2 separate regions of the Homo sapiens genome follow, and region 1 is linked to region 2. Evidence: promoter capture Hi-C in 16 types of primary human blood cells and fetal thymus (Javierre and others, 2016). All regions are on one chromosome and are shown on one strand. Each heading gives the region's core, a stretch centred on a gene start or on the middle of the fragment in contact. The rest is flanking DNA. Distances are from core to core; before and after follow the strand shown.

Region 1 (5,673 bases), core at 2,086-4,585, 110 kb after region 2:
CCTGTGGGCTACAGCAGGATCAAAGTCTCAAGACCTCTCACGGGGCAGTTTTTAACTAAACATCCAGTCCTGACGGAAATAATTTCCCTGGGGATGAGCCATCTTTCCTACTTGGCAAAGAACTAGACAGAACCTTCCAGGGACTCCCTGTCTGGAGGAGCTCTGAGCCTCCTGACCTCTCCCCACCCTTTCCTGAGGTTTAGATTCCCAAAGCCCCATTCGTGCATAGAGAAGGGCATTGGGGGGCAGGAGGTTCCACTCCCAGCTCCCCCCAGGAAGCTGAAGACCTGCTGGCTTCCTGCTTCAGCCACCAAGGTTCAGCCAGGATCTGCTCCTCCTCTGCCCACCTGCCTCGATTCCCTAAATGCACCCCTAAGCTCCTCACAGTCTCAGCCCTAGGGGCCCAGGTTCAGCCCCAGTTCTTCACACTATCACAACTCAAACGATCAGAGTTTTTGTGATGCCATGTTAATGCAAAGCAGAGGGCAAGCAGCTGCCAAATTGCCCTCCCTTCATTCCACTGCAAGACAGAGACAAACCCTGGAACAATTTCTATTTCACTGACATTCCACCCTTGACACCCCCCAACATCCTAACTTAGCTGGTAACTGCAGCACCCTCTAAGGAATTCCTAAAGAATTCTGAAGCTACTCCTCAACATCTGCTGTGACCCAGGTATCCTAACAATGATCATGGTGTCTGACATTTACTGAGCTCTCACTATGGGCTAAGCATGTGCTGTGTGTCACCATCTAAACTCCTGACAATCCTGCTAGCCCCCACGTTACAGAGGAAGGGACTGAGCCATAGCATAGGGAGGATGACTTGTCCAAGGCCACAGTTTGAGACCATGACAGAGCTGGGATTTAAATCCAGGTCTCTCATGACTCTCTAAATTTTACAAAGGGGCAGGGGAGGGGAGGAGCTGTCAAAATATCAAGCTTGGGCTGGCACTGGCTATATGTTGAATTGAGCCTTCCTTTTAGTTTTTGAAGGAACATCTTTCAGGCCATCTTGGCAAAGGGGGATTTATTTACTAAATGTGAACTGGTTAATATATGTAAAGGGTTCAGCCTGGTGCCTGGTCCAGAGATAGTGGTGGTCATTGTTACCCCATAATGGCATTGGTGCAAGTCCTTTCTTATCTATCCTGTCACGTGCCTCATAGCCATTTATATAGGCAAGACAGGCATTAGGCTGCCCATCTTGTAGATGAGTAAACTGAGGCCCAGAGAGGGGAAATATATTGCAAGTTGGTAGCAGAATTGAGGTCTCTGCACAACTCAAATATGCCACAGTGCCTCCTTGTGGAGAGGAGGACAAAAGCAGAGCTGAAATCATTATCTTGAAGAGGTGTCAGAAGTGGGATTGCGACAGGACTGATGTGATATTTTTAGATATGGCCAAGAGGACACAGTCTGAGTTTTTAGCTGAGAAATGTCCTCTATAAGGCAGAAGGCAGAGATTCTAGAGGACCTTTGAGGGAGAATGTATTTGAGAACAACTCTTCCAGCTTCTTACATATGTACAGGTATCTCTCAGGGGCTGACCTAGGAAGGGTCCTTTCCTGTGGCCATTGATCGATCCAGTCCCACATCTGGAAAGCTTACAAGAATTGGGTTCAAAGCGGGGATTACACTTGATAATTACAGAAGGACCACCTACTTCTTAGAGGAAAGACGCTGGGAGGTTGCTTAGGATGTGGGCCAAGAGGGTCAGAGAGGACCACCTACTTTTTAGAGGAAAGACGCTGGGAGGTTGCTTAGGATGTGGGCCAAGAGGGTCAGAGATTTTGCTTCACCTGAACTCACTGGGGCTTCTCCAGGGATATTAACCTGGACTTTAAGAGTCAGAGTGAGTCCCTGGGACTAGTTCAGCCCATCCAGGATTCAGACGGGAAGAAGGTGGGGCTGATTTTTCACCTGGAGAAAGAGAGGCATGTCCCACACAGACCTAACTCGGCATTGTCCCCTCCCAAACTCCCACCCCTCCACATAGCTTAAAAGTGTTGGGGGCTTCTCCAGTTTAGATGGGGGAACAAAGAGAACCAACAGCTGGAAAAAACTAGAGATGAGGCCGTTGGCCTAGTCATCATCCAGGCCGATTTCTCAGAACCACCACTTTCTCTTCGGCTACTTTGCCCATCCCATAAAAGAACCCCAAATCCTTCCTGTTCATTCCTCAGCAGTTCCCACGTTTCCTTCCAGAAACTCAGAAGGCACCAGGAACTGAATTGCAAAGTTCGTTAGAGCACAGACTCTGAATTAAAGAGCTGGGTTAAACTCCAGGCTATTCCCTTAGTAGCTGTGTGACCTTACCTGTCTGAAGCTTGGTTTTCTCCCAGTAAGATGGGGTAGTACTGCCTAAAGAGGTATATGGCATGTATAAAGTGCTCCATAAATGGAGCTTATTGGGAGAGTATAAGTCACAGGCCATGCCCCGCAAGGGGATGCACGAAGACCCACCGCGAGCCAGGAAGGGAGCACCGGGCTCTCTGCTCTGGGACCGGCAGTGAGCCGGACATCTGGGTCCTCCCAAGCCGGGCGGGCTGCCCCAGGGAGGAAGGGAGGGGGGCGAGCCTGAGCGGGCACCTCGGCCCGCAGGAGGTCTGCAGCGAGCTGTGGTGTCTGAGCAAGAGCAACCGGTGCATCACCAACAGCATCCCGGCCGCCGAGGGCACGCTGTGCCAGACGCACACCATCGACAAGGGGGTGAGCGCCGGCCAGGGCCCCCAACTGGGCCACGCCCCCTGAGCCACCTCCCGCGTTGGCCACGCCTACCCGCCTGTCCTTCGGCCTATTATCTGCTCCCTCCCACATTGGCCACGCCCGCCATTTGTGCTCCCTCGGCTGTGGCCACGCCTACTGCTTGCTCCTTCCCGCGTTGGCCACGCCCACCGTCTATGCGTCCCTTGGTTCTGGCCACGCCTACTGTTTAACTCCCTCCCGCGTTGGCCACGCCCACCGTGTAATGATTCCCACGGCTCTGGCCACGCCTACTGTTTGCTCTCTCCCTCATTGGCCACGCCCATCCCCTGTGCTGCCCTCGGCTCTGGCCACGCCTACTGCCTGTAGACCTCCCCTCCCCAGCCTGAAGCCACGCCCCACCTCGTCTCCACGCTTATCGTGGTCCTGTCTACACCCCTCCCCGTTAAGCACCCTGTGCTCAGGCCACGCCTCTCGCTTGTACCTGGTCTGTCTCCCAGACCACTCTCCTACGTAACCTGACTCTGTTCGCATGTTCAGACCCCGCCTCTGCCCATCCCGGAGAGGCTGATATCTCTGGCTGGGGCCTGGAGTGGGGAACGGTGCATGGGGCCGACGAGTGTCCTCCGGGCTGGACTCACTCCTTCCTGTCTCCCCCCACCCAGTGGTGCTACAAACGGGTCTGTGTCCCCTTTGGGTCGCGCCCAGAGGGTGTGGACGGAGCCTGGGGGCCGTGGACTCCATGGGGCGACTGCAGCCGGACCTGTGGCGGCGGCGTGTCCTCTTCTAGCCGTCACTGCGACAGCCCCAGGTCAGCCCTCAGGACCCCCACCCGGGAGGGCAGCGCGACCCCTGCCCCCATCGCCCACTGCCTCATCCCTCTCCTATCCCACCACCCTTTCCAGGCCAACCATCGGGGGCAAGTACTGTCTGGGTGAGAGAAGGCGGCACCGCTCCTGCAACACGGATGTGAGTTCCCCCAAACCCCTTGAGGGGTGGGGGGAGGAAGCATTAAAAACAGCTATCAGAGGCCGGGCACCGTGGCTCACGCCTGTAATCCCAACACTTTGGGAGGCCAAGGCAGGCGGATCACGAGGTCAGGAGATCGAGACCATCCTGGCTAACATAGTGAAACCCCGTCTCTACTAAAAATACAAAAATTAGCTGGGCGTGGTGGCAGGCGCCTGTAATCCCAGCTACTCGGGAGGCTGAGGCAGGAGAATCGCTTGAACCCGGGAGGCGGAGGCTGCAGTGAGCCGAGATCGCACCACTGCACTCCAGCCTGGGTGACAGAGCGAAACTCCATCTCAAAAAAAAAAAAAAAAACAAAAACGCTATCAGAGTGCTTCATCCAGGCACCTGCTGCCTCCTGGGGAACCTGCAGCCGCCACCCCTCTCTTCCCTCCTCTCCCTGACCCCCACCACCTTCTCGTCCCCAACCCCTCCTCCTTAAAGACCTGGCTCCTTCCAGCTCTCTTTTCCTCCTACATTTAGACTACAAGCCCCCACCTTGAAATCACTGCTTGGCCCTCACAACCCCCTACCATCCAGTCTCTCCCCTCCCTTTACAGCCCAACTTCCCCTGAAGAGTCCTACCCCTGCCTTCTGTCATCCCCCAAAGTTGTAGCTGAAGCTTCCTCTCACCAAACCCAGTGACAGGTGTCTGTCCTCTGCTTGTGCCCTCAGCTGACCTGCAACCATCAGTGAGCAGTGAGAAGTTTACTGGGGAGGGGGTGTTTTAGAGGGCAGTGAGAGCTTTGGACTTTTCAGCCTCCCAGCTGGGGGGAACCAGGTCTTCAGAGAATCCACATGCTAGCACTTTCTATAAACCCTGATCCCTTCCAGACCTTCTCTCTCAAGAAAGACTCCATGTGGCCAGGTGCAGTGGCTCACACCTATAATCCCAGCACTTTGGGAGGCTGAGGCAGGCAGATCACCTGAGGTCAGGAGTTCGAGACCATCCTGGCCAACATGGCAAAACCCCATCTCTACTAAAAATACAAAAATTAGGCCGGATGAGGTGGCTCATGCCTGCAATCCCAGCACTTTGGGAGGCCGAGGCGGGTCAATCACCTGAGGTCAGGAGTTCGAGACCAGCCTGGCTAACATGGTGAAACCCCGTCTCTACTAAAAATACAAAAAATTAGCCAGGCGTGGTGGCACGCGCCTGTAGTCCCAGCTACTTGGGAGGCTGAGGCAGGAGAATCACTTGAATCCAGGAAGCGGAGGTTGCAGTGAGCCGAGATTGTGTCACTGCACTCCAACTAGGGCAACGAGAGCGAAACTCTGTCTAAAAATAAATAAATAAATAAATAAATAATGCAAAAATTAGCCAGGCATAGTGGCATGCACCTGTAATCCCAGCTACTCGGGAGGCTGAGGCAGAAGAATTGCTTGAACCCAGGAGATGGAGGTTGCAATGAGCTAAGATCATGCACTGTACCCCAGCCTGGGCGACAGAGTGAGATTCTGTCTCAAAAAAGAAAAAAAATGCAAGCAAGCAAGAAAGATTCCATAGCCTGGAACCAGAAACCCAGGTGTGTCCTGCCCAGCTCACCCTCAGACCTCTAATGAGGGATCCAGTCCTATCCCAGATGTGTCTACACGCCCAGCCCAGGCTACCTTCCAGGCCTAGTCTCACGCAGACCACCACAGCCTCCTCCCTGGCCTCCCTGCCTCTAGCCTCCCTCCTCCAGCCCATCTTTCTCTGAGCACCCCTTTTCTGACTCCATCCCCCCAAGCCTGGCCTCCCTCCATCTCTCCTCTCCTGCCCCCAGGACTGTCCCCCTGGCTCCCAGGACTTCAGAGAAGTGCAGTGTTCTGAATTTGACAGCATCCCTTTCCGTGGGAAATTCTACAAGTGGAAAACGTACCGGGGAGGTGAGTGTGGGACTCCAAAGGCTGTGGGGCCGTGAAGGGCAGCCGTGGGAGTGTCCAGCAGCAGGTGGATGAATGCAGCATCCCGGGG
Region 2 (5,314 bases), core at 2,270-4,769:
CCAAAATGCCCCAGCCTCGAAAGAACAGAATAAAAAGACGGTGAATACAGCATTTCTTTTGCCTAGAAAGGACAGAATAAAAAGACGATGAATACAGCATTCCTTTTTGTTCTCCAGGGTTTGTGACAAGACTGCTCAAGAAATCAGTGGTTCTCGGCACTAAAGGCACAGCAGGCTGACCTAGGAAGTTTTTTTGGTTTTTTGTTTTTTTTTTTTTGAGACAGAATCTCGCTCTGTCGCCCAGGCTGGAGTGCAGTGGCGCGATCTCAGCTCACTGCAACCTCCGCCTCCCGGGTTCAAGCAATTATCCTGCCTCAGCCTCCCGAGTAGCCGGGATTACAGGCATGTGCCACCACGCCCAGCTAATTTTTGTGTTTTTAGTAGAGACGGGGTTTCTCCATGTTGGTCAGACTGATCTCCAACTCCTGACCTCCAGGTGATCCACCCACCACAGCCTCCCAAAGTGCTGGGATTACAGGCGTGAGCCACCGCGTCCAGCCAGTACTTATCATTGATGTAACAAACCCTCACATAGCACTTACTATGTGTGAACCACTGACCTAAACACTAGAAAACAATAACTTGCCCATCCTCATAGCTGCACTTTGAAGGTGGCACTATTATTACTCCCATTTTGCAAATGGGGATACTGAGTCACAGTTAGTAGTTTGCCTCAGCTATTAAGCAGAGGAGTCAGGGCTTAAATTCCAGAAGCCTGGCCCCGGATCTGTGGCCTTAGGCACATCATGGCTTTGTTGCCTATAATCACGATATTTTCCTATATTGTTGCTTCAGTATCTCAGAAGCTAGCATCTATTAAGTGCCAGACAAGGTATCCTCATTTTATCCAAGAAGAGAGGAAATGGAGGCTCACAGAGTCCCAACCTTTGTTTCTGTTCTATTTTTAGTGGGTTTTTCTTGTTTGTTTGTATGTTTGTTTGTTTGTTTGTTCCTTGAGACAGGGTCTCGCTCTGTCACCCAGGCTGGGTGCAGTGGTGTGATCTTGGCTCACTGCAGCCTCCAACTCCTGGGCTCAGGTGATCCTCCCACCTCAGCATCCCTAGTATCTCGGACTACAGATGTGAGCCACCATGCCTGGCTGTTTTGGGTGGATCTTAGATTTCACAATTTCCCAGACTCACAGTCAGCCACTGAAGTAAGTCAAAGATGTAGGCTCAACTCCTGCCTCTGTCTCATACCAGTTGTGACTTTGAACAATCACTTGACCTCTCTGAGCTTCTTTTCCATCAAAAAAATAGACATAGTACCCATTCCTAAGTCATAAAGTTGCCATAAGAAGTTGCCATGTTTTAAAATCAGAAAATGAAGAAAGGCCAGGCATGGTGGCTAATCCCTGTCATCCCAGCACTTTGGGAGGTTAAGACAGGAGGATCACTTGAGCCCAGGAGCTCAAGATCAGCCTGGGCAACATAGCAAGACCCCATTTCTACAAAAAATTAAAAACTTATCCGGAGATAGTAGCACATGCCTATAGTCCCAGCTACTTTGGAGGCTGAAGTGGGAGGATTGCTTGAGACCACGAGGTTAAGGAGGCTGCAGTGAGCAGTGATTGCACCACTACACTCCAGCCTGGACAATATAGCAAGACCCAGTCTCAAAAAAAAATTGAAAACAATAAAGTGTTATCACTTAGTGTATTTCTGGTTGTTGTGAACAGTCCAAAAAACAGACCCTCAATAAATTGCTGAGTAAATATTTCCAAAAGCATGGATTAGACCACACATACCAGTAAATCAATAATTAATTAAAATGCTCAATAAACCACACTCTGGCAGAGTAATAAATCTAGACACAACTAGAAAATTAAACCTCTTTCATTTAGATATCCCATAAGACATTCACTAGCACTATTCCTGGTGATTTCTACCACCACATGCATGAACATACACTAAGAAAAACGTTTTTATTTGCTTTAACTAACAGGTGATATCTGATATCACCAAAAACAGCCATGGTCTTGAAGCAACTCTCCTAATGCATTTTGAAGCCTGCTATTTATTGTTGAGATAATTCCTTCCTCCCAAATGCACCCTCTCCCCTTTTATCTATACTGAAACCCCTTCTTGTATCTCACTGAGCCCCTCTCCTGCCAGGAGGAAGCAGGTAACAACCCCTGGAGAGAAGGCAGACTTCCCCCATCCCTCATCTAGTTGGAGTACAGAGTAGAAATCAGGGTTGGCTTCCAGGAGGAGGTGGCATCAGACTGAGATTTGAAGAGGCAAATTCCTTCTTGGCAGGAATGGGACAGGGAGAATGATTCAGGCAGTGAATATAGCAGAGGAAGCAAAGAATCTAGGACAGGGGTGTTCCTGTCTCTCCCTGCCTCTCTCCATCCCCAACCAAGGCTGGCCTCTGTCTCCATTTGGAAACCAGGAAGCCATGCTAGCCCGCCCCACCTTCTAATTAATATTCTGAGGAGGAATATTCTAATATTCTAGGGAGGCCTGTGGCAAGCTCTCTGCCACTAGGCTGTAAATAGCTTCATGGCGAGGTACCCAGAGGAGGATTCCTGGGTCTTCCTGAAAGCGTGGCCCAAAGAGTTAGAGAAACCAATTTTGCATGTTTTTAGTGAAACCATGCCCCAAAGAAATGTTTGAGCTTGCAGAATGGCAGATCAAAAAAGAAACAACTTGCTGAAATGCCTTCCACTTATGAGGGTTTTTTGTTTGTTTCTTTGTTTGTTTGTTTGTTTGTTTTGAGATGAGTCTCGCTCTGTCATACAGGCTGGAGTGCAGTAGCATGATCTTGGCTCGCTGCAACCTCCACCTCCCGGGTTCAAGAGATTCTCCTGCCTCAGCCTCCCTAGTAGCTGGGACTACAGGCATGTGCCACCATGCCTGGCTAATTTTTTTTCTTTTATTTTCTTTTTCTTTTGAGACAGAGTCTCACTCCATCCCCCAGCCTGGAGTGCGGTGGCATGATCTTGGTTCACTTCAACCTCCACCTCCTGGGTTCAAGTGATTCTCCTGCCTCAGCCTCCCCAGTAGCTGGGACCACAGGCATGCGCCACCATGCCAGGCTAATTTTTGTATTTTTTGGTAGAGACGGGTTTCACCATGTTGGCCAGGCTGGTCTCGAACTCCTGACCTCAGGTGATCTCCCACCTCGGTCTCCCAAAGTGCTGGGATTACAGGTGTGAGCCACAGCCCCCGGCCCCAGAACTTTTCTAATAAAATTACTGCCTTAAAGCCAGCTGAGAAACAGACTTGTGCTGGATTCCTAGCTCCCAGTGGGTTGACATGCAACAAAAAGCTTGTCTTTTCTCAAAAACCAGGTGCCATCGTATTAGCTTCTAGCGCATCCGACAGAAATGTGTTAAGAGGGCCCTGCTCTGAGATGCTCATCTCCTCCTCCAAATTTGGCTCTTCAGAGAAGAGATGACAGCCTTTGGGCAGGCAGGGCTGGGCAGGGACCCATCCTCTTGGCTGCATTGTGATGTCTTAAGAAGACTGAAGGGGCACCGTGACGTCATAGATTGCGGGCCCACCCCTCCCCCTGTCTGCCTGCCCTCCCCACTGGCCGGGCCTCAACCTCTTCTCCCCGCAACCCCAACCCCAGAGGAAAAGCCCCCTCACCTGGCGTCCCGCAACCATGGATGCAAGTCGCCCCAAGTCCTCGGAATCCCAGTCCTCCCTGGAGGCCCCCAGGCCCGGCCCAAACCCCAGTCCCAACGTGGTGAACAAGCCCCTGCAGCGGGACTCCCCCGGCATGGTGGCCGACAGGCTGCCACCAAAGACCGGCGCGGTGGTTATTGACATGGGCACAGGCACCTGTAAGGTAGGTTTTGCTGGGCAGGCCAGCCCCACCTACACCGTGGCCACCATCCTGGGCTGCCAGCCCAAGAAACCCGCCACCTCGGGGCAGTCCGGGCTGCAGACGTTCATCGGCGAGGCAGCCCGCGTGCTCCCAGAGCTGACGCTGGTGCAACCCCTGCGCAGCGGCATCGTCGTGGACTGGGATGCCGCCGAGCTCATCTGGCGCCACCTGCTGGAGCACGACCTCCGAGTGGCCACCCACGACCACCCGCTGCTGTTCTCCGACCCACCCTTCAGCCCGGCCACCAACCGCGAGAAGCTAGTGGAGGTGGCCTTCGAGTCGCTGCGCTCCCCAGCCATGTACGTGGCATCGCAGTCGGTGCTGTCTGTCTACGCCCACGGTCGTGTCAGCGGGCTGGTGGTGGACACGGGACACGGGGTCACCTACACAGTGCCCGTCTTCCAGGGCTACAACCTGCTCCACGCCACGGAGCGTCTGGACCTGGCGGGCAACAACCTGACCGCCTTCCTGGCGGAGATGCTGCTCCAGGCCGGCCTGCCCCTGGGACAGCAGGACCTGGACCTAGTGGAGAACATTAAGCACCACTATTGCTACGTGGCCTCCGACTTCCAGAAGGAGCAGGCCCGGCCGGAGCAGGAGTACAAGCGGACTCTGAAGCTGCCCGATGGGCGCACGGTCACCCTGGGCAAGGAGCTGTTCCAGTGTCCGGAGCTGCTGTTCAACCCCCCAGAGGTCCCGGGGCTGTCACCCGTCGGCCTCTCCACCATGGCCAAGCAGAGTCTCCGCAAGTTGTCACTGGAGATGCGCGCGGACTTGGCCCAAAACGTGCTTCTCTGCGGTGGGTCCTCGCTCTTCACCGGCTTCGAGGGTCGCTTCCGGGCAGAGCTGCTGCGCGCTCTGCCAGCCGAGACCCACGTGGTGGTGGCTGCCCAGCCCACCAGGAATTTCTCCGTATGGATCGGGGGCTCCATCCTGGCCTCCCTGCGCGCCTTCCAGTCCTGCTGGGTCCTGCGGGAGCAGTACGAGGAACAGGGTCCCTATATCGTGTACCGCAAATGCTACTGACCAGGGCAGAGCTGGGGAGGGCGTGGGGGCAGTAAAGCCTCTGCTACAGCCGGCTCTGTCCTGTCCTTCCTCCAGGGCCTGCCCCATCCACTCCTGGGCACCTCGCCCCACAGGCTGACCTAACTCACCTCCTGTGATGCATGCCCTGAGACACCCCAATCCTGACCCCCTAAACCCACCTTCCCCATGAATAACTCCCAACAGACCACTAAGTTCTAATCCTGTCAACCCATCCTCCTGTGATCTGTGCCCCTCCCCAGGCACCCTTGGGTTGGGACACCCCCTCCCCAGACCACCTCTGACAAGTGCCCTTCCCATTTACACACTCCCAGAGATGGGGAGTTCACTACCTCAAGGCTATTGTTAGAAATATCACCTCCTCCTATGAGTCATAGATAAGCCTCCACCTGGCACCTGCCCCCAACCCCAAACATGAAGAACATGAAAGCCT

The links. Contacts are between HindIII fragments. The CHiCAGO score rates a contact against its expected background, and 5 or more counts as called.
Region 1: a fragment that was not itself captured here is called in contact with the fragment with the promoter of ACTL9 in region 2 in 5 of 17 cell types (monocytes, M0 macrophages, M1 macrophages and 2 more); the score reaches 12.1 in monocytes.

The regions. Positions count from the first base shown.
Region 1 is chr19:8,589,801-8,595,473 of GRCh38, reverse strand. ADAMTS10 (ADAM metallopeptidase with thrombospondin type 1 motif 10) reads left to right here. Exons shown (of 26, transcript NM_030957.4): 13 at 2,604-2,711; 14 at 3,371-3,516; 15 at 3,611-3,674; 16 at 5,483-5,585. Among named protein-coding and RNA genes, the nearest start is that of MYO1F, 15 kb to the right of the region's middle. RefSeq lists an enhancer at 3,075-3,673. The HindIII fragment of the contact is 2,010 bases long and covers 2,331-4,340 here.
Region 2 is chr19:8,697,000-8,702,313 of GRCh38, reverse strand. It overlaps ACTL9 (actin like 9), which reads left to right and starts at 3,519. Exons shown (of 1, transcript NM_178525.5): 1 at 3,519-4,914. The coding sequence starts at 3,613. The coding sequence ends at 4,863. The HindIII fragment of the contact is 13,278 bases long and covers 3,276-5,314 here.